7 separate regions of the Homo sapiens genome follow, and all the other regions are linked to region 1. The links are contacts of gene promoters, found by promoter capture Hi-C in blood cells and fetal thymus (Javierre and others, 2016). All regions are on one chromosome and are shown on one strand. Each heading gives the region's core, a stretch centred on a gene start or on the middle of the fragment in contact. The rest is flanking DNA. Distances are from core to core; before and after follow the strand shown.

Evidence for each region. Contacts are between HindIII fragments. The CHiCAGO score rates a contact against its expected background, and 5 or more counts as called.
Region 2: a contact is called between a fragment that was not itself captured here and the fragment with the promoter of NSMCE2 in region 1, in 4 of 17 cell types (neutrophils, naive B cells, total B cells and 1 more). The highest score is 8.8, in neutrophils.
Region 3: a fragment that was not itself captured here is called in contact with the fragment with the promoter of NSMCE2 in region 1 in 2 of 17 cell types (fetal thymus and naive B cells); the score reaches 5.2 in fetal thymus.
Region 4: a contact is called between a fragment that was not itself captured here and the fragment with the promoter of NSMCE2 in region 1, in 1 of 17 cell types (neutrophils). The highest score is 7.6, in neutrophils.
Region 5: a contact is called between a fragment that was not itself captured here and the fragment with the promoter of NSMCE2 in region 1, in 1 of 17 cell types (erythroblasts). The highest score is 6.3, in erythroblasts.
Region 6: a contact is called between a fragment that was not itself captured here and the fragment with the promoter of NSMCE2 in region 1, in 3 of 17 cell types (naive B cells, fetal thymus and erythroblasts). The highest score is 7.1, in naive B cells.
Region 7: a fragment that was not itself captured here is called in contact with the fragment with the promoter of NSMCE2 in region 1 in 16 of 17 cell types (neutrophils, total B cells, M0 macrophages and 13 more); the score reaches 22.6 in neutrophils.

What each region holds. Positions count from the first base shown.
Region 1 is chr8:125,090,528-125,093,616 of GRCh38, forward strand. NSMCE2 (NSE2 SUMO ligase component of SMC5/6 complex) reads left to right here and starts at 1,333. Exons shown (of 8, transcript NM_173685.4): 1 at 1,333-1,431. WASHC5 (WASH complex subunit 5) reads right to left here and starts at 1,265. Exons shown (of 29, transcript NM_014846.4): 1 at 1,088-1,265. RefSeq lists a silencer at 985-1,154 and an enhancer at 1,205-1,424. The HindIII fragment of the contact is 6,790 bases long and covers 1-3,089 here.
Region 2 is chr8:125,712,762-125,715,921 of GRCh38, forward strand. No RefSeq gene overlaps it. Among named protein-coding and RNA genes, the nearest start is that of LINC02964, 190 kb to the left of the region's middle. The HindIII fragment of the contact is 387 bases long and covers 1,679-2,065 here.
Region 3 is chr8:124,447,106-124,450,190 of GRCh38, forward strand. No RefSeq gene overlaps it. Among named protein-coding and RNA genes, the nearest start is that of TYW2, 2.2 kb to the right of the region's middle. The HindIII fragment of the contact is 2,106 bases long and covers 783-2,888 here.
Region 4 is chr8:125,743,781-125,746,997 of GRCh38, forward strand. No RefSeq gene overlaps it. Among named protein-coding and RNA genes, the nearest start is that of LINC00861, 210 kb to the right of the region's middle. The HindIII fragment of the contact is 5,314 bases long and covers 1-3,217 here.
Region 5 is chr8:124,464,177-124,467,426 of GRCh38, forward strand. It overlaps RNF139-DT (RNF139 divergent transcript), which reads right to left. Exons shown (of 2, transcript NR_108047.1): 2 at 1-3,250. Among named protein-coding and RNA genes, the nearest start is that of RNF139-DT, 8.8 kb to the right of the region's middle. The HindIII fragment of the contact is 2,374 bases long and covers 127-2,500 here.
Region 6 is chr8:124,487,770-124,491,175 of GRCh38, forward strand. RNF139 (ring finger protein 139) reads left to right here. Exons shown (of 2, transcript NM_007218.4): 2 at 1-849. It overlaps TATDN1 (TatD DNase domain containing 1), which reads right to left. Exons shown (of 12, transcript NM_032026.4): 12 at 729-927. The coding sequence ends at 825. Among named protein-coding and RNA genes, the nearest start is that of RNF139, 15 kb to the left of the region's middle. The HindIII fragment of the contact is 1,041 bases long and covers 1,041-2,081 here.
Region 7 is chr8:125,695,592-125,698,843 of GRCh38, forward strand. No RefSeq gene overlaps it. Among named protein-coding and RNA genes, the nearest start is that of LINC02964, 180 kb to the left of the region's middle. The HindIII fragment of the contact is 4,191 bases long and covers 1-3,252 here.

The DNA of each region.
Region 1 (3,089 bases), core at 83-2,582:
CACTATATTTTCTTATTTTCTTTTACAAGTGCCGGTAACTTCATTTTTAATAATTTGGCGTGGAACTGTGATTTTCAGTTTGGGAAGTAATCCTAATCAAAAGACATGCTTTCAAGAATAAGGCATGACATCCTTACACCAATTACCCTGAGTACAGAATAATATTTCTTAAGGAAATCGAATTGTCGTGGACAAACAGTTTACCCTCTTCAGAGGACAAAAGAAGGCAGGTCTATTTTTAGCCTTTCGCAAAACCTCAGTTCCATAAAGGAAGCACTGGTCTCCACAAATCCATTATCACAAACAAAATATAACGGTTGCTGATCAAGATAAATGCAAGCTGCATATATTTTCCAGAAAAGTTCTGAAATGAGGCTGAACCTGAAATCCTGGGAAAGGCAGGTGAAGGACAATTAGAGAAGGTGTCCCTTGTAGTGCACAAAGACAGTAAAACTTCGCCCTCACTACGCCTCACCTATGTTTGAGGGAGCTCCATGCGCTTGCAATCAGGAGACCCAGTTTTATGGCTCTGTGACTTTTTTTCTTTCTCCTGTCCGATCATAATCCTGATTCCGATCCCAGGAATCAGGGCCCTGGGAACTTTTTTTTTTTCCCCCAAATGCAAAGGATTTTGACATCAGTATGTCACAGGTGAAGGCATTAAGGCGCGGCGAGCAGCAATGACTTGCCCAAACTCACAGCCCATGGCATAACTAGAATGCAAATCCACGTCTGTCAGCCTGTAAAAGTCCTCACTACTAGCCTTTCAGTTTTCTCAAAAGCAAAGAGAAATAACGACGACATCCATACAGCAGTGTTCCCGGAAACTTGGAAGGATGAGATTCGGACCAAGCAGCTGAACGGTGCTTCCTAAAGCGAGGAAGGGGTGTGCAAAATGATTTCCCCCTAAGCGGAGACGAAGAGCTGGATTACAGCCCCCGCCCCAGAAAGCCCCTAAGCCCTCCATCCCGAGTCCCCCATCCAGGCTGCACGCGACTCTGCAGACCTCCCCGTGGCCAGCGCGGCCCAGCGGGGAGGGGAAGGGGGCCATGCAAAAATGGGGCGCGCTCACTCCATCCCCACTCACCTGTCAGCCGGGCCGCGCCACGGCGCACGCGCAGGGCCGGAGGTCGCGCGCGGAGCCGGCACCCAGTTTCCACCCCTCCCTCAAGGCGGCGGTCCTCTTCTATCCGCAGTCCCGGACCTGGAGCGGGTCAGACCCCGACTTCCGCCCCTGACTCCCCAGGCGGTCACATGACCGAAGCGGCTGGGAGCAGGGAGGGGCATCATGTGACCACTCGCCGGCGACGGCTGATGACGCAAGAGCCCGCTCTCACTTTTCAGCGGCAGGCGAAGGGGGCTGAGGAAAGGAGGTGGGTCTAGGCAGGGGAAATTGGGGTGCCACCAGACGGAGACAGCTTGGACTACCAGGTAGGGAAGAAGCGGGGGACGGCAATGGGGAGGGTGGCAGGAGTTTCGCCACCCTCAGGGACACTCCACGGGGACTCCGAGCCGGGGGTCCGTCTACCCGGATTATGGTTGTGGAACTTTTCACGCCACGGTAGTGAGTCTGGGACAGTTTACCCTCCTGTCCGAGACGCCATCTCTCCATCCTTTCGCCTCAAGTGTGTAGGGGCAAGATTACGAATTTTTGATCCAAATAGATTTTGTTTGAACTGACTTTAAAAGTAAGGCCACGGGAAGGTCGTTTGAATAAACTCTCTGGACCTCAATTTCCTCTTCAGTTATGTAGATTGCAGTGAGAATTAGCGATAAGGAGAATAAAGTGCCGGGACACCAGTTTATGGCATTCTGTAGGTGACCGAGAAATGATGATGTCTGTTGTTATTTTTGTAACTGGCCAAATCTTTATTGGTCCCCTATTTTGTGTGAGGAATTGCTTTATATGCAATAGAATATGTCAGGGTTCTAGTTTAAGGAGGTGTCAGTTTAAAGAAGCTGCAGACATGTGAGCAAATAGTTGTGATGAGTTTCATAATAGGAGTGTGTTGTGTACATGTGCATGTGATAGGGATAATGGTAGCATGAGGGAGGGAAAAGCAATTGTATGAGAAGGATTCAGAGAGAAGGGATTATCCTTGCATGTTGAAAAAGGAGAGGCAGCTCTGGCTGACTTGTACAAGGCTCCCATGGATTTAAAGGAAGTCAACATATTGTCTATAAATAACATGCAGAGAAAAAACTCAGGAAATGCACAACTTGTTCTAAACTTTCTTGGAGATCATAGGTACCGGGAAGAAAAAGATCAGTGTTATTACCTGGGGAGGGATCCAAGAGAGATTGATTTAAACCAGTTATTCTCAACTGATGCACTATTGACATTTTAGGCCAGATAATTTTTTGCTGTGGGGTCAGGGTGAGGGCTGTCCTGTGTTTTGTAGGATGCTTAAGAGCATCCCTGGCCTCTGCCCGCTAGATGCCAACCACAAAGTCTACAGATACTGCTAAATGTCCCCTTGCGAGAGGGGTAAAATCCTTCTTGGTTGAGAACCACTTAAACCAAGCCATGAAAGATGGTATCTTAGTCAATGTGGGCTTCTGTAACGGAAATGCCATAAACTAGGTAGCTTATGAACAACAGAAATTTATTTCTCACAGTTCCGGGGCCTGTTTCCTGGTTCATAGGTGGCTTCTTGCTGTGTCCTCACATGGTGGAATGGCAAAGCAGCTATCTGGAGCATCTTTTAAAAGGGCACTAATCTTATTCATGAAAGTGGGCCTCATCACCTCCCAAGAGGCCCCACCTCCTAATACCATCACCTTGGAAGTTAGGATTTCAACATATACATTTTGGGTGACACAAACATTCAGACTTTAGCATATGGGTAAGATGTGGGCAGATAGAAAACTGAAGAGAGGCCCTGGCACAGTGGCTTATGCCTGTAATCCCAGCACTTTGGGAGGCCAAGGCGGGCGGATCACTTGAGGTCGGGTGTTTGAGACCAGCCTGGTCAACATAGCGAAACCCTCTCTCTACTAAAAATACAATAAATAAATAAATAAATAAATAAGTAAATAAATAACATAATTGGTGTGTCCTGGCACACACCTGTAATCCCAGCTACTCG
Region 2 (3,160 bases), core at 622-3,121, 620 kb after region 1:
TGCCATTTGGAATGGCTGTATTTACCCAATGCCTGTATCCCCATTGTATCTGGGAAGTAACTAACTTGCTTTTAATTTTACAGGATCATAGGCGGAAGAGACTTACTTTGTCTTAGATGAGATTTTGGTCTGTGGACTTTTGATTTAATGCTGAAATGAGTTAAGACTTTGGGGGACTGATGGGAAGGCATGATTGGTTTTGAAATGTGAGGACATGAGATTTGGGTGGGACCAGGGGCAGAATGATGTGGTTTGGCTATGTCCCCTCTCAAATCTCATCTTGAATTTCCTCGTGTTGTGGGAGGGACCTGGTGGGAGGTAATGGAATCATGGGGACAGGGCTTTTCCATGCTGTTCTCATGATAGTAAATAAGTCTCATGAGCTCTAATAGTTTTAAAAAGAGGAGTTCCCCTGCACAAGCTCTCTCTCTTTTCCTGCTTCCATCCATGTAAGACGTGACTTGCTCTTCCTTGCCTTCTGCCATGACTGTGAGTCTCCCCCAGCCACGTGGAACTGTGAGTCCTATTAAACCTCTTTCTTTTGTAAATTGCTCCCAGTCTTGGGTATGTCTTTATCAGCAGCATGAAAACAGACTAATACAATGAGTGAGGCCCCCAAATCCTTTATATAGATGAAGTTCATGGGAGTTTGGGAGAGAGGGAGGAGATGTAGGCAGTTCCCAGGAAGGGGTCCTTCAATGAGCAAGTCTGCAGGGAAAGGATATCCTGGAAAGGCAGGAGTGCAGTGGAGGACAGGGCTGGGGGGAAGCTGGAGGCTTGCATGGCCAACACCAAGTTTAGTCTTCATATGATGGGCAGGAGGGATTGTGGATGGCTTTGGAGCTGAAGAGCATGATTCATTTTCTTTCATTTACCTTTTTAAAAATAGAAATTAGATTGTCTGTTGTTGCTAGAGTGATTTGGGGGAAAATGACAGAAGTCAGGGAGCCAGGGTAAGAGGCAGCTGCACCTGTTCACTTGTGTGTTAATGACATTGTTAGTGGGATGGAGGAGACCTGCTGAGCACAACGTTGGGAAGAAAATCTTCAAACACCAGTTACAAAAAGGGAGGCCAGGAAAAGTCATTTGTAAATGTGACTGTAAGGGTTTGAGCTTGTAAAAAAATGGGTCCAGGGCAGGTGGGTTAGTAAATTTAGGGAAGTGAGAGAAGTTTGGGGACTGCCACCTATGGTTTCTATTTCCTCAGTGACATTGAGATGAGGTTATCAATCAGCTGAGGGTGAGCAGGGAAGTTCAGTGGAGTAGGAGAAATGAAGAGGCAGAATCAAGTATAAAATAATGGATTCTGAATAAAACACGAAGAATTATATGTACCTAGGTAAAAGATTGGGAACCCCTGGAATAAATCCTTGTTGTTTGCAATCATTAGTAAACAAAATATTGCCTTTCTTTTTAATCTTTCCAATCTGTCATTTGCAGCATTTTTAATGTGAAATTTATTGGTTCCTTTCTATCCTGACTGTTTGAAGTGTGAATGTTAGCTGGTTTACCTGCTGTGTCTGTTTTACTGTTCTTTTCAAATAATCAGCTTTTGGCTCTTTTTTTTCTCTGTTTTGTATTTTTGTTTCCAATTTACTAACTTTTCCTCTTGTCTTTAGTATGTATTTTCCTCTACTTCTGTGGATTTATTTTGTTGTTAGTTCCCTAAATGTTTGCAAGCTTATCTCATTAATTTTCAATCTTCCCTCTTTTCTAATGTAATATTAAAGGCTATAGTTTCCCTCTAAGTACCACTTTAGGTGAATTCTGCAAGCTCGATGCAGTGTTTTTGCTGTCATTTAGTTCTAAACGTTTTCTGATTTACATTTTGATTTATTCTTTGATCTTTGAAATCTTTAGAAGTGTAACTAAACATTTCTGAATATGATTTTCTTTTGCTATTGTTTTTAAGTTAGCTGCATCGTGCTTGAGAGTGCTTGGTCAGTAGGATTGTCTCTCTTTTTGAGATGTTAGGAAACATTGATGACCACCATCCAGATCAGAGGTCAGCAAACTGTGGTGGCCCATTAGCCAAATCCTGACCACTGCCCGTTTTTGTAAGTAAAGCTTTATTGGAATGCAGCCATACATATTCATTTGTGTATTGTTTATGGCTTCTTTTGAGCAGAGGTGAGTAGTTGCCACAAAGACCATTTAGGCCTGTGAAGCCTAAAATACTATCTGGCCTTTAACAAAAACCTTGTCAAATCTTGGACTGGATCTGTCATTGTAGTAGGGTTGCAAAATGGTGATTCTATATTCCTTCTATATTCCAGTTCTATAACCTTTCTTCATTTAATAGATGGGATCATTTAATAATAAGATATTTTCCCTATTAATTATTTGGTTACCCTTAGGTATTGTTTGCACGAGAAAGGCAGGATGGATGCTTGAGTTTTTCCTTTTTCTTACTAGCTTTCTAAAAATAGAAGTTGATGGCTGGGCGTGGTGGCTCATGCCTGTAATGCCAGCACTTTGAAGGCTGACACAGGTGGATCACCTGAGGTCAGGAGTTCGAGACCAGTGTGGCCAACATGTCAAAACCCCATCTCTACTAAAAATACAAAAAAAAAAATCAGCTGGGTGTGGTGGTGGGTGCCTGTAATTCCAGCTACTCGGGAGGCTGAGGCAGGAGAATTGCTTGAACCTGGGAGGTGGAGGTTGCAGTGAGCCAAGATCGTACCATTGCACTCCAGCCTGGACAATAAGAGTGAATCTCCGTCTCAAAAAAAAAAAAAAAAAAAAAAAAAAAAAAGAAGTAGTTGATTTCCTTATTTTTTTTTGACAGAGTCTGACTCTGTCACCCAGGCTGCAATGCAGTGGCACCATCTCAGCTCACTGCAACCTCCACCTCCTAGGTTCAATCAATCCTCCTGCCTCAGCCACCTGAGTAGCTGGGATTACAGATGTATGCCCCCAAGACCCGCAAAATTTTTATATTTTTATTAGAGACGGGGTTTCACCATGTTGCCCAGGCTGGTCTCAAACTCCTGGCCTCAAGTGATCTGCCTGCCTTGGACTCCCAGAGTGCTGGGATTACAGGTTTGAGCCACTGCACCTGATCAAATATGACCGTTTAAAATTACCATTATAGGACTTGGCATGCTGGTTCACGCTGTAATCTCAGGGGTTTGGGGAGGCTGAGGTGCGAAGATCGCTT
Region 3 (3,085 bases), core at 586-3,085, 640 kb before region 1:
TGAATGATCTAGGGTGCCTTTGGATCCAAGTAGATACGTAGCTAGGATTAAGGTCTTCTGTTATACTTTAAGAGTTATATCAAGAGTATCTAGCAATAAAGCCTGATAATTTAATAACTATCCCCTACTCATCTATTGGTGCCCTTTAGCTTCTAGGGCCTCTGTTATTTGGTGTGGGGTCAAAACCTCCAGATGTTGTCCCAAAGTTAATTTATTGTCTTCATCTATGAGAAGAGCAGTTGTTGCAACTGCCCTGAAACATCTGAGTCATCCTGAAGCCACATGGTCAATTGGTTAGAAAAATATGCCATGGGTCAAGGGATGTATCCCTGTTTCTAGACAAGAACATTTAGGGCTGTCCCTTGTTTCTCAGCCACATAAAGGAAGAAAGTAAAGCCTGTCCCTAAACCCACGGGGAAGAATTGTCCAAGTTAACACAGAAACCAAAAGATTATTAGGTAATCAAAAGTAAAGACCACAATAGGGGACTCAGCAAAAGAAATGTTTCACTAGAGAAGGGAAATGACAAAGTTCTAGAAAGGAATGTCCAAGTTCAGGCCAGTAGCGGCAAGCAGGACAAGATTTACATGGCCTTGCCATTTGTAACCAAAAAGTAAAAGTCATTCCATTAGCAAGGAGATGAAAAAGAACTGCTGAAAAGCAATCTCCAGTTTTCCATCCTGGAGCAGTTCACCTAGGGGGGACTGGTATAATTGCTGCCAGGCTTAATCTTTCACATTGGACCTTTTCATTTAAAACTTGTAAATGCGAAATTCCAAGTAAGCTTTGCAAAAAAGGAGAGACAATAAACAATTCATTTAAGTGGTCTAGATCTAGGGAAAGTAAATATTACAGAGCCATTTGTCCCCAATGTCTTCTAGCAACATGCCAGAACAACAGGCAAATGGCCCATAACCCAAAGGCAAACAAGAAAAAGGAAAGTTAAAAACCTCAGGACCAGTTCAACAAGATCTCTCTCATAAAGTAGCAGTAAAGCATAGAAAGCAATCAGGAAACTGGCAAGTGGCAGCCTTTGGAAAGCTCTTACAGAGAGCACAAGGAGGACGAATCCACAGTGAATAATGGTTAACATCCCATTGTGCTAAACCCATTTTCAGCTGTGAGGGGCCTTTAATCCTCCCAAGTAGGCCTCAAACCCAATCTTAGATAAGTGTCCTTGTCCTTCATCGGTATAAAAATGTATTCCCCTTCTTACCCAAAGTCAGTCAGTTGGTCCTGCGCAGTCTATTTCTTTTGGGTTGAAGGTCTCACCTCAATAAAGTCCTTGGGAGTTGCCACAGGAAATGTTACTTAAAAGGAATTTTGTTCCAGACCCAAAAAACAGGTTCTTGGATCTCAGACAGGAAAGAATTTAGGGCCAGTCACAGAGCACAGTGAAAGAAGCAAGTTTATTAAAGACTACTCTATTACAGAGTAGGGTGTTCTCAGAAGGCGAGAGGAGGACCCCACACCAAAAATTATGTAGCTAGCTAAGAATAATGGTCTCATGTGCTTTAGTACAACAGCTTGTGATCCACTTGTGACAGAGTATTAGTAGTGTTATTCTCTGTGTAACTATTGATTTCAGCAAACATTTATGAAAATACTATTATCTTTAAAGAGAAACCTATTCTTAAACTAATAATGCTTTCTGTTCTCAAGATATCAGGACATCTTCTTAAGTTCTGGGTCTTGTTTAGTGAGTAAGAATCATTAGCTCGTTCAGCCAAAAGGTCTTGTTATGGGTAGAGGGTGTCCAGGTTCGTGACATCTTGAACAAAGAATTGGACAAAATGTACAAACCAAGGAAAGAATGAAGCAACAAAATCAGATTTATTGAAAATGAAAGTACACTCCCCAGGATGGGAGCAGCCCCTGTCTAGGGGCTCAACAGCTGGGTTACAGAATCTTCTGGGGTCCAAATACCCACTAGAGGTTTCTTACTGGTCACTTGGTGTTCACCCCATGCAAATGAAGTAGTGGCCTGCAATCAGAGGCTGAAGTAAAGTTACAAAGTTGCACTCCTATGCAAACGTCTGATTGAGGCCATTATTTCATTTGCATGGAGTGCACACCAAGTGGCCAATGGGAAACCTCTAGTGGGTATTTGGATTGATTGGTGGCTTTCTGCAACCAATCAGAGGTACTTTCAATTTTCCTTCTGCCCTGCAGAAAAGCAGGTTTGCAAAGGGAGTAACCTCTGGTCCTTCTGTTACTTAGGCATAGATAGTTGGTTTTTTCCTTTTGATTTAGTTCTACGAAGTCAGTGTGAATCAGCCTTAGGTTCCCTGCCTCCAGACCCTATTTTCCTGCCTCAGTCTTATTATGGAGAGTACTTAACTTTCTGGGAATGTAACCCAGCAGGTTTTGCTTTATTCAGCCTTTATTCAAGATGGAGTCACTCTGGTTTGGACTCCTCTGACAGCGGGAGTGAAGTAGAAGTGATAGGGTTTCTTTACAGTTCTTATATCCAACTATTTGATTTAGTCTATATGGAATTCCCCTTTGTCTTCTTTAGGAATATCAAAGCATTTCAACAGGTATTTAGTACCTGTGAGCTAGCCAACTTGTTACTTTGTATCTTTTTAAGTATCTACTCTTTACTAGTTATTGTCTAAGACACTATAATGTCTCTACTCACTATAGCAATCTTCTGAAGATTAGATTCCATTTTATAAGTGAAGATTCCAATTTTGAGGGGTGATACGATTTACTGGAACTCAGATCCTTCTGACTTTCAAATAGTTGTTTCTTGGACCAAAGGACAATGAAACAGTGATGACTATATCTGCATGAAAAGGGAAAAAGGGAGCTGTATCTGACTCTTCACTTTCAGAAAATAAGGTGGCTGCTGATGCTAACCTGAGAGCAGCATTAGGCTATGGGAAAGCTTTCTCCAAATTCAGATCATCATTTTGTTACAGGAAAGGGGTCCCAATGCAGACTACAACATGGGGTTCTTGGATCTCATGCAAGAAAGAATTCAGGGCAAGTCCGCAGTGCAAAGTGAAAGCAAGTTTATTAAGAAAGTAAAGGAATAAAAGAATGGCTATTCCATAGACAGAGCAGCCATGAGGGCTGCTGG
Region 4 (3,217 bases), core at 516-3,015, 650 kb after region 1:
TCCACACTCTCTCTCCTCAATCATGACCACTGCTATGTGTTACTACATCCCCAAAATGAACACCGGTGTGGTCCCTGGAAACAGCTGTGGATTTGGTGAAATGAGAGACACGGATTTCAATCCCTCATGCTTGCCTTAACCTCTCCTGCATTCCTGCCAGGCTCCCTGGACTTTCTTCAGTGCGTTGAGTTGGGAAAGCCAGAGATTTATGACAAATCTGAATCTATTTTCCATTCTGCAGTAAGGAATGAATGAGATGATGACTGTAAAGTCACTGGCATGTGCAGGGGGCTCAGTGTAGCTGGTCTTCCTCCTCATTGCGGGACTGTCCACATCACCTTTCTTCCAGGTCTGGTTCAAGCTCCATCAGGGTCTGAGTCTGGACTTCTGGGGTCAGGAAGCCATGGAGGATCTCTGACAAGTTCATAGGAGGGACTCCCAAGACCATGCTAAGAGAGCTGTTTCTAGACATCATGAAAAAATGCAGTGTCAGTGAGAAGGATGCATTTGAATAGAGGAGTGAGAAAACGAGGTAGTCAATGTTGAGTGAATGCTGACAGTGCGATGTAATGCTTAAAACTGCCCTTGGAGATGGCCTTTGTTATTATTCCCATTTGGCAAATGAAGAGATGGAGGGGAGCCAGCACTTCACAGCTGGGAGGCTGTCTTGAGAGTTCAGAGTCTCAACTGATGCTCTGAAATGGTGGACTAGGTCCTGAAGAGGCCAGAGACACAGACCAAAAATCAGGTTGGAGGACAGGCAGAAGAGGCATCAGCACAGGCTACATGGTCACAGTGAGGGTGGCACCAACTCGGCCCCTGCGTGGCTGATACACATATAACCTAGCTGATTGGACAGGTATATCAATATCCTTTTGACTTGACTTTCTGGATTACTCCTTCTCCCTCCCTGGATAAAATCATGGGGAGTTTCCTTAGCTTTTTCAATCACTATTAGAAAATAAATGAATAACACCTTTGTTTTAACATAAAAAAACCCAGCCCAGTAAAATTTGCATAACTCCAGAATAGTCCCATGTAATAATGTAACTCCAGTGCAGTCTAGTATAATCATTGACACCCTATGTTCTTATCCAGTTTAAAACTTTTTCATCCCTCTCTTCTTCAGCCTAGGTCACCTGCAAGAGAGCGAGGAATGGCAGCCATATGAAGATATACTAGAGAGAATGCTTTTGATCCATTCAAATGCTTTTAATTAAAATATCAGAATACTGAACACTTAAAATGGGCTTAAACAATAAAGAAGTTGTTATCTCAGAAAACAATAGGTACAATAATTTTAGGATTGCTAGCGTTTTGATGATGGCTTCTTCTCATATTTACAAGAAGGCAGCAGGAGCTCCAGACATCACATTTTCACCTACCTATGCTCAGAGCCCAAAATAAGCAGTCCCTGTTTTGCTTATTTTTAAGAGTGAGAAAAGTGTGTCCAGAACCCCTTCAGCTTGATTCTTCTTTTCTCATATGGACTGTGGCTGTGGCATGTGCCTATTTCTAAGCCAATCATTGGCAAGGAGGATAGAATTAACATGATGGGCTTGAACCAGTCAACACTGGCGCTGAGGAGGAACCATGAATCACATGGACCCTAATTCCTGAAGCAAAACTGGGATTCGCTCAGCAAGGAAGAGAGTGTGGGTGATAGTTATTTGGGGAAACCACATCTGAATGACTGTGACTGTTTGATGTCATGTGGGTTCATGTAAGTGAACCATCTGTTATCCACACCACAGAACAGGTTTCATTATTTCCATTCTACAGGAAAGTCAAACTCAAAGATAATAATTCACTTGAGGGCACAGAGCCAGTTCATTGGAAAATCAACCCTAGGGGTCATATTTTTTAACTATATCTTTACTGGAGCATGATTCTTTTCTCATTCTAACCCTAACTTTTGAAATATCAATTTTCCAAACACATGCTAGCCAATGGCCGTGGGATGAGAAAACATGCGCTTTAGAACTAAAGAGAGTTGGGCTTAAATCCCTGCTTCAGTATTTATTAACTCTGTGACCTGGACATGTACTTAAAACTCTCTCAGTTTTTTCATTTATAAAATGGGAATAATAAATCCTATATCATAGAATTGTCAGACAAGACAGTAGATGTGTAAAGAGCTTAGCATGGTTTAAGAGCTCAATAATTGGTATGCATTGTTATTATTAGTCTTAGTCAAAATATCGTGGAGTTCTTTATCTTCAATGATGTCCAGCCGTCTGTATATCTGTCCTTCCTTTTTTCTTTTCTTCTCTCTTTCTTTTCTTCTTTCTTTGCTTTCATTTTGTTTCTCCTACAAGTCTTTACTGATAACTTTTTAAAGTCATTACCTCTAAGCATAAACACTTCCTTTCCACACTTAGCCTTGTGATTCTGGGGCTGGGACTTTGCAGACCACACATCAAGCCTGGAGGAGGAAGAGGAGACTTGTTCCTTCCCATCTGTTTCCGAGGGCTTCCTGTTGGCTCACAGTTCCTGTGGGCATCACCCTGGAAGCAGCAGCTCCCTGTGTAGCAGCGGGTAACTCTAGTTTGCAGTTTTTCCAGCACTTACAGAGCCAGCCTCACCACACCCCACCCTGAAGACATCAGTGGGGCAGTGACCCCTTCTCAGATCTGGGTTTCAGGCCTATGAGGGCTTCTCTGACCTCAGAGACACCAGCATCAGCCAGGCATTGACCCCTCCCCAGAGGTCTGAGTTTCAGCTCCACGGAGTCCATTATTCAAGTTTTCACGTTTTAGTAATTTCAACGTTTTCCCTAGGTAGTTACTTTGAGTTCTCTTTTTAGTCTTTGAGCTATCAGTTCAATAACTTTATGGCTGGTTAATATATTTTAATTCTTTCTGTTTAAATTGCCAGTATTGGCTTGACTGGATCCTGATTTACACAAGTGCTTCTCATAGACCAGCCACTGTTTTAGGCATTGTGGAGAGAACAGTAAACAAAACAGTGGAAATACTCACCTCAAGGAGGCTACATTCTGCCAGGCAAAACAGAAAATGAACACATACATAACACAAACATGATCTGTCAGAGGGTGGTAAGCTCTACAGTGAAAAAACACCAGGGGAGGGGTGGGTGTGGGTGTGCCGATGCGGGGGTGAGTTGCCCTTTAAGCTGTCATGTTTAAATGATACCACTCATCATATATGTGAGAATATCTTGTTGCCCCAAATACTGGAAATCACTTTGTTTCATT
Region 5 (3,250 bases), core at 64-2,563, 630 kb before region 1:
GAAAATATTGCATGAACATGAAGCTAAAATTGAATTTTATGTAACACAACAACAGCACTGGGTAAATAGAGATAGGTGGATAGACTGTCTCAGTTTCTTTTTAATAATTTTTATTTTTTTAATCGAAGCTTTACACATAATTTAAAAACTCAAAGGTAACAAAACCTAATATGAAAAAAGCCCACCATGATGAAGCAGCTGTTCTGCAGGTGTTTTGCCCTCATTCTGTGTGTCTACTTTCAATTCCAAATGGGCTTATATGACCAAAGAGATGCAGGATCTAACCAACATGTACCAACAGGAACCATGAGCATGTGTATGGAACTGGGTCCTGAGAGTGCTGGACAAGAATTAAGTTTGTGTTTATATAGGACAGCAGTACCCATTTATAGTATTGGCTTAGGGTTATGTTAACTCTTCCACACTGCGTCATAATCCGAAGAGATCTAGACCATCTAAACATCCCACATAATGTCACAATGACCTACCACATTGATGACATCATGCTAGCTGGATAAGGTGAATAATAAGCAGCTAGCATACTGTACACTGGAGGATGGGAAATAATCCTTAAGACCCAGCAAGCTGTTACCTCAGTGAAACTTTTAGGGCCCAGTAGGCTGCTTGAATGCCAAGATATCCCCTTCACAGTAAAGGACAAATTATTGCATCTCACCCACTCATTTCACCAAAATTATTCTGCCACCAGGGAAGCACACCAAGCTGTGTAGGCTTCTGTGGGAATTCAGAAGTTGGCAGTACTGTTCTGACTCGTAAACTGGGTGAGATAGAAATCTGCCAGTTTTCAGTGGGATCCATAGCATGTAAAAGTTCTCTAGCAGGTATGGTGTATTTAGCCCTGTTGCATGGACCAATTCAGGATATTCTATGGGACAAGAGTAAATGTGATAAGAAGCCATGAAAGTTGAAGGCAAGCTCCAATGGGAGAATCACAAGGTCGACTCCTGGCATTCTGTGGCAAGGCTGGGCCATCTGCAGTGCAAAATCCCAAAAACAACTCTATCCATGCTAATGTGCCTTGGTAAGAACTGATTATGGACATCAAGTGACCATGTAGCCAGAGAGGCCCATCATGAGCTGGGCAAAGGCAGGTGGTCAGGCTCCCATGTCATATCTGATTCTTTACCAATGTCCCTTCCTCAGCTCACAATTATGGCCACTTGGGAGGCTCTCATGTCTAGCTTATGGAGGACAAAAAAGCCTGAGCTGAATTCACTGAGGTTTCTTGGAATATAGGTTCAAAACAAAAATGGACTGCTACTGCCCTACAGCCCCACACAGGACTGGCCTTAAAAGACAGCAGTAAGGAGAACCCTCCCAAAAGGCATAATGTGGGGCAGTATTCCTGGTCATCAACTGTGTGTGGAAAGAAAGTGTCTTGAACTAAGAACATATTTTCATGGCAAATAAGTTGGCTAGTTGATCAGGGGTCTGGAATAAGACTGGTATATCAGGGACAAGAAGTCTGGAGAAGCAGAGGAGAAATATATCAGATATGGCACATAAGGAGGGCTTTTTGTATTGTATAACACAATCTTTATCTGCCAGAGACAATCCAACATGTAAGCAGCATTAAATAACCAAGTAGACAGATTTAGCCAGTAAACTTCAGCAGCTACAACCATCGGCTCCACCGCCCCCTCCCTCCGCCCCCAGGAATGGCACAGGGGGCTTATGACAAAGTAGTCATCTTGCAGGAATGCAAGTGAGCAAGAAGCCAATAGATAGCCTCCACTTATCCAATAGCCACTCCCCAGGCTGGGCGCGGTGGCTCCTGTCTGTAATCCCAGCACTTTGGGAGGCTGAGGTGGGCGGATCACCTGAGGTCTGGAGTTTGAGACCAGCCTGACCAACATGGAGAAACCCCGTCTCTACTAAAAATACAAAATTAGCTGGCCGTGGTGGCGCATGCCTGTAATCCCAGCTACTCACGAGGCTGAGGCAGGAGAATCCCTTGAACCCAGGAGGCAGAGGTTGCAGTGAGCCGAGATGGCGCCACGGCACTCCAGCCTGGGCAACCAGTGAAACTCCGTCTCAAACAAAACAAAACAACAACAACAACAACAACAAAATAGCCACTCCCCAGTGTTAAACACCAAGTTCCTGATACAGCACCAACCCTCAAGGATACCAAACAGCTACTTGGGCAGCAAATTGATTTATGTTGGATTCCTTCCATCCTAGAATGGGCAGTGATTCTCCTTGACTAGAAACTGCCCATCTGCATGTATGAGTTTGACTTCCTTGCCTATAAGTTGTTGGCCAGCTCTACTACTCACAGGTTTACAGGTATTTGATCCATCAACATGTATCCTGTGTAATATTGCCTTTGATTTAGGGATGCACTTTACAGCAAAGGAGGTGTATCAGCAGGTACATAACCATGAGATCCACTAGTCCTATCACATACTATATAACCGAGAAAATGCGGGTCTGATGGAATGATGAAAAACCCTTTTGAAGGTGAAACTGAAGCAAAAGCTTGAAGATAATAGCCTGTGAAAATGGAATGACCTTGTCCACCAGGGTACAGTATATACTCTAAATCAACACTCATTTTATGGTGCTGTGTCTCATATATACATAACATGCATGTTTGGGAATGAAAGGATATAAATAGAATTCCTACTGTGTAGTAGGCTGAATAATGGCCCCCAAATATGTTCAGATCCTAATCCTGGATTCTATGAATATTTTACCTTCAAGATAAAAGAGACTTTGTGGATATGACTAAGTTAATGATCTCAAGATACAGAGATTATCCTGGACTATCCAATAGGCCCAATATAATCATAAAGATTCTTACAAGAGAGAGGCAGATTTGCCTAGTAGATGCAATGACTTAAGCAGGAGGATGGGGTGATATGAGTAAGGGGCCATGAGCCAAGAAATGTAGGTAGCCTCTAGAAATTGAAAAAGGCAAGGAAACAGACTTTTTCTTGAAGACTTCAGGAAAAACAGTCCAGTTGATATCTTGATTTTAGGCTTCCAGAACTGTAAGAAAATAAATTTGTGTTGTTTGAAACCACTAAGTTCGTAGTGTCATAGCAGTGATAGGAAATTAATATAACCACATACTCTCACTCCCAGTGACCCAAGTGGGGAGTTTGGACTTCTCATCCCCGCAACTTTGTGAATTAGAAGTCCTGATTCCCAAGAGAGGAACCTTTTCATCAAGAGACACAATAATAGATCCTTTAAACTTTAACTTGCTGAGGTTTCCCGGTTC
Region 6 (3,406 bases), core at 311-2,810, 600 kb before region 1:
TGGTTTTCCGTTTACTGTGATGTGCTACTGTAAATATACCTCTTTAATTACTTCTGGTCTCTTTGGTGACCTGTTTAAATTTGTGTACATTATTGTACATAGAATAAAATGTTTTCACATTTTTATGACAAAATTTGAACAAATAGCTTTTTAATAGATGTAATGATCATATGGTGCGTCACCTGTGCCAAATATTCTTCAATGAAATTATATAATGTAACTTTGGACCTCAGTTTTTCTTTAGAAATGGGTGGGAGAATGAAAATGCAAATCAGGAAACCACATTAAAGTCAAGGAAATAAAATAATTTGACCAGAGGATAAAGGACATGAGAGAGTATTTTAAAACTAAAGAAAAAATTAGCTGCCAGAAGCAACTGAGGACCTTTTTTGAAACTTGAGTAGCAGTGTAATTGAGCTGAGTTTGAAAGTCCTGATTCAGAGAGAGACTGAGGGTTGACAAATAAACTGTATCAACTAAACTTTGATATAAACCAGAATGTGCTAAATGTTTTTTATGTAAAATTGTATATTTGTTAGCCATTCTGTGTCTGCAGTATTGTCATAAAATTGTCCTTTCATTCTTTTGAAGATATTACAAAACAAAAATAGTTTTTTTTAAATTGTTTTAAACTAAGATACTCAATGATATAAAAACATCCTGATCTGATTTTACGAGAAAAAGAAGGGGAATGGTGGGGAATGGTGTGTACCGATATATAGTATTTCTTTAGACAACTTGCAGATAATTTCTTTATTGAAACTATCAGGAAGTTTTACTATGAAATTTTACATACATGATGGAAAGTGGAAGACATATACCAATTATATTCCAGGAAAAAATACTTTAATAGTATTGTTATATAGTGTATTGGCTAATTCCAGTGGATCCTCATCTCTCACTGCTGACATTATCTCCAATATTTGACTAAAACAAAACAAAAACAAAAATGGTTAAATCTCCAAGTATACATTTAGTTCTAAAGCTATATAATATTTTTCCACACAAAGGAAAATATTGGCACACCTTTAATATAATAAAGCTTAACAGTTATTAAGTTTTTCAGCAATATCAATAGAAAAACTTACTGCCAGTAACTGGAAACAGATTTATGGACTGTCTTGCATATAACTAGAGCTAAGAACCAGGTTCAAGTAAATTATTAAAGCAGCCATCTGTATTATGTTCACCAATTATAGCATTAACTGAGTGGAAATGAAGAGTCCTTTTCAATTGTGAGTCATAGCATGTTCATTAGTGGGTCATGATGAGCATTTTAAACATTGACAAGTACATTGTACTCAATAAGGGTAAGTACTGTTCCATTTTTTGTTAGGTTTTATTATGTATGTGTGTCCTAAGTCACAACGTAATTTGTACTGTGGGACAGCAGCCACAGTTGGAAATCTACTGCTAGAGAACTAGTCCTTGAGAGACAGCAAATGAAGGTATTAGGTTGCTGCAAAAGTAATATTTACTTGGAAAAATGTGTGGTTATTGAGGGCGAGGGCTTTCTGTACCTCTACCCTTGCGAGAGAAATAAGCCCAGGTGTCCATCCTTCAGTTTCTTTCTTTCTCTGTCTCTCTCTTCCTTCCCTTCCCTCCCTTCCTTTCCTTTCTTTTTCTTTCCTTTCTTTTTTTTTTCTTTTTTCTTTCTTTTTTGAGACGGCGTCTTACTCTGTTGCTCAGGCTGGAGTGCAGTGGCACGATCTCGGCTCACTGCAACCTCTGCCGCCTGGGTTCAAGTGATTCTCCTGCCTCAGCCTCCTGAGTAGCTGGGATTACAGGCACCTGCCATCACACCCAGCTAATTTTTGTATTTTTAGTAGAGACGGGGTTTCACTATGTTGGCTGGCCGTGGTCTTGAACTCCTGACCTTGTGATCCACCCCACCTGGGCCTCCCAAAGTGCTGGGATTACAGGTGTGAGCCACCGCGCCTGGCCGCATCTTTCAGTTTCTGTGCTTACAGTAATGATGATCCGTAGTGTCTCCATACTTATTATATATAAGTGGAAGATTTTTAATACATGAATTAGAAAGTTCCAAAGTCCAAATTGAACATTTAAATATTCTTTGCCTAAGCTTTTTGTTCCCTTAGTATCTTAAATGTTAACACCTAAAGGAATTAAGGATGGAGATCTAAGATTAATGGGAATTTAAAAAATTGTTTTGTAATGTGACACAAAAGCCTTGCTTGATGTTTATACTAAGCAAACACTACACTAAAATTTTATCTGACAGTCAAGATACACTAAAAGCAAATCTATTAACATTTAAATTAAGACAGTGAAAATCCATTTTTCTTAGGAAACTACTGAATGTCCCTCTGTATGCACTTCTCAGAATTGGAACTCTTGATTAATGCTGCTGATGACACAGTTTTGAAGGTCACAGCAGCTTTGCTAAGATTATATTGCATAGCAAATTCATTTTATTGAAATCGCTTATAAGAAATCTATTGGGCTGGGCCCAGTGGCTCATGCCTGTAATCACAGCACTTTGGGAGGCTGAGGCAGGCAGATTGAACTCAAGAGTTCGAGACCAGTGTGGGCAATATGGTGAAACCCTATTTCTAGTAAAACAAAAAAAATTAGCCAGGCATGGTGGTGGACGCCTGTAGTCCCAGCTACTCGGGAGGCTGAGGCAGGAGAATTGCTTGAACCTGGGAGGTGGAGGTTGCAGTGAGCTGAGATTGTGCCACTGCGCTCCAGCCTGGGCAACAGAGCGAGACTCTCTCTCCAAAAAAAAGAAAAAAGAAAAAAAAATCTATTGGAGCTTAGGACATCCTATTTTACTGTTTGATAATGCAGTTTATGGAAATCTTTCTTCGAATAACCCTTCTGTAGCCAAGCCATGCTATTTCCATACATCTTCAGTGGTCAAAGCTGCAGTTATTCCAAAATGAATATAAAGTTGTTTAATGTCCCTGAGAATTTAGTGGCTTTTGTTTAATGTGGCACTTTTACAGTAAGCACAGGTTTTTGTTTTTTTTTTTTGAGAGAGTCTTACACTGTGGCCCAAGCTGGAGTGCAGTGGTGTGATCTTGGCTCACTGTGTGTGATCACACAGTGGTGTGATCTTGGCTCACTACAACCTCTGCCTCTCAGATTCAAGTGATTCTCCTGCCTCAGCCTCCCAAGTAGCTGGGATTACAGGCGCCCACCACCATGCCCGGCTATTTTTTTGTATTTTTAGTAGAGACAGGGTTTCTCCACGTTGGCCAGGCTGGTTTTGAACTCCTGACCTCAACTGATCTGCCTGCCTCGGCCTCCCAAAATGGTAGGATTACAGGTGTGAGCCACTGTGCCCAGCCAGGCAAAGGTTTTTAAAGTCTTGCAAGATCTACATGATTCCTACCCTATCTCCTTTCCAGCCCTTCCCCATACTGATACAAGTTATAGCTTT
Region 7 (3,252 bases), core at 225-2,724, 610 kb after region 1:
AACATGTACTTCCCAGTGTCACTGGGAACAAGTCTAAACAATGAAAGTGCCCTTTATAATGCCAGACGCAGTAGGTGCTCGATGAAAGGTAGCTACATAGAAAGAAGAATAAGATAGGGTCACTGTCTTCAAGGAACTTGTCCTTTTCCTGAAAGGGGCTGGCGAGTGAAATAAGATCAGAGAGTGAAATTTACCTGCGTGTGAGAGAGAAGAAATAAATACAAATCCCTAGTAGCTAAGCTATAAATGCAACTGGAATTCAGAGAAGAAAGAATGCTCTGTGGGCAGGGGTCAAAGGCTCTGTGGCAGGACCAGTGAGGCGGCCAGGATGGGGGCTTTGGTTCTATAACCAGGCTCCGTGGGTTCATATCTGAATTCCATCTATCTTATTACCTCTGTGTTCTTGGGTGAGGGTAAGTTATTTAATTTCTTTAAGCCTCTGTCTCTTCTGCTTAAAATGAAGATAATTGTAGCACCTGCTCATTGGGTAATTCTGAGACGTTAATGAGAAAATCCTCCTAAGGGGCTCAGTACAGTGCCTGGCGCTTAATAATAGTGCCTTGAATATTATTCCTGTGGAACCAAGCCTTGACCAATGAATATATAAGGCCTTCCGCATCGTAGTGGTTGCAAGGATTAAATGAGAGAATTTATGTTAGGCACCCAGCACAGTGTCTGGTGCACAGCAGGCATTGCTTATGCCCCCTTGCCCTCCAGGGAAGGACAATGCCTTATGTTTCTTCTTATCTCCCATGGCCCTCAGCACAGTATCTGGCTTGAGTTAGTTTTACCACGAAGTATTCAGCTGGGAGCTTGACAACAAGCTAAAAGTTGAAAGTAGGGCCATTTGAAGAAATAACACGAGTGAAAACAAAGCAGTGGAAATAGTCCAAATTATCAAGGAGTTTAAGAAGAACTTCTGGGACCATGGGTGGAGCTGGAAGCTGTTATCCTTAGGAAACTAATGCAGGAACAGGAAACCAAATACTGCATGTTCTCACTTATAAGTGGGAGCTAAATGATGAGAACACATGGACACATAGAGGGGAACAGTGCACTCTGGGGCATATTGAAGGGTGGGAGTTGGGAGAAGATCAGGAAAAATAACTAATGGGTACTGGGCTTAATACCTGGGTGATGAAATAATCTGTACAACAAACCCCCATGACACAAGTTTACCTGTGTAACAAACCTGTGCTTGTACCCCTGAACTTAAAAGTTGGAAAAAAAACAACAACAAAAACAGACCTTTCATTCTTTGTAAGGTCGAGGAAGTCCTATTTGTTTCCCCCTGGTGGCCAACAAAAGCAAACACAGCTCAGTTTTTGGGAAAGGAGTCAGCGCTTAAGCAACAGGAACCGTCACAGGGCTCACCTGACCATCCTGGGCCACGCTTCGGCTGTGATTCAGCCCTGCAGAACGATTCATGACCCGTCTCAACTGCAGTGACTTGCTCCTGGTGACATTTCCCAAGGAATAAACAGTGTCGTAAGAACCAGCCTAGAAACTAAAGAAAGAGCTAGTTATTTCATCTCTTTTCTCTTTATCCAGCCGAATACTTTGAAACTCTGCCCTTTGACCTCCTCCTTCAGGGACAGTATCAAGAATTCTCCTCTTTCCTGTGTCATTTTGGACAATTAATCATATAACAGTAATGACAATATTTTGGGTGTTTATTCTCTGGCAGACACTGTTCTAAGCTCTTTACAAACTTAACTCATTCAATCTCCCAGACAACCATACAGGTATGTACTATTTTGACACCAATTTTTCAGAGGAAGAAACTGAGGCCCAGTGAGAATACGTGACTTGCCCCAGGTGACGTAGCTAGTATGTGGCAGAGCCAGGTTTCAAACCCAAGCAACCCGGCTCCAGATACCATGTTCTTAACTCTGTGAATCAGCCTCCCAGGCCACGTGCTCTAGTGACAAATCTTGGGCCATTGCCTAGTATTGCTGGAATTTTGTGTGGCATAAATCACTCGTCTTACACTTTCATAAAAATGTGGCATAAATCACTCTTCTTACGCAAATCATGGAGAGAAATGACTTTTTATTTTTTTATTTTTATTTTTTTAGAGACAGGGTCTTATCCTGTTGCCCAGGCTGGAGTGCCGTGGTGCAATAATAGCTCACTGACTCACTGGACCTCAAACTCCTGGCCACAAGTGATCCTCCTGCCTCAGCCTCCCAAAGTGCTGGGATAACAGGCATGAGCCACTGGGATCAGCCAGAAATGGCTTTTTAAGAGCACATTGGTGGGTTCCACCCTCAGAGATTCTGATCCAGCTGGTCTGGGGTGGAGCCCAGGAATCTGCATTGTTCACAATGGTGCTCTCTATGGTAGTGGAAAGAGCATAGGTTTTGGGATGCCATCTTCTGTCACTGGTTCTTGGATCTTTGATAAATCACTTTTAGCTCCCCCAATGTCTGTACAATTGGTGTCATGATTCTGACCTTATCGTAGTCATGGTAAGGCTGAAATGAAATGATTTATGTTAGTGTCTGGTAGATGATTTATTTTAGATGCTCCTGTCCTTGAGCTGGGGGGCTGACAGTGATCATCTTTAGTCATATATGACTTGTGAAATGTGAAATGGGACTTTTTGGGTCAGGAACAGATACCGTCTCCTCCTAGCAGCCACAACACAGTGACAAGAGCATCACTGACTTGGCCTGAGCTTTGGCATGATTACTTCAAACCTCTGTTTCTCATCTAAGCAGTGTGGAAACCTGTGCTTCCATGAAGGGTTGTGGGGAAAGCCCTCATGTCAGGTTACACATGAGGAAGTGAGGTTTCATTCTGTCAGGCATTGTTTTTCTTGAACCGTCCACATAGGGGCTCAGCTGAGTTCCAGCCGGGCCAGCGGCTGAGTGTGTGCAGGTCCGAGAAGACGTGAATTGTGTCCTGGATTTCTGGTAGGCATGCTCCCAGGACGGCAGGGCATGGTGGGGAATGGCTCTCAGAAGCCCCAAAGCCTTGTCCAAATACTCTGTGGCAGGGGATGCTACAGTTCTGTGTAAAAGACAAGGCCAAGTCACCCGGGGAGGCTCTGTGATGATCCCATTTGACCCTTTGGGGACACGTAGCTGGGGGTTGAGATTCTCTCTTCACTGAGCAGAACAGGCAAGGAGGTAGCGGGCCTGCCTTTTGTGTTGTCTCCGAAAATGGAATCAATGCTGCTCTCCTCTCTTTTCCTTGCCCCACATCTCTCTCTTCCTGCTTTGAGCACTTTGATATAGTCTCACTTTC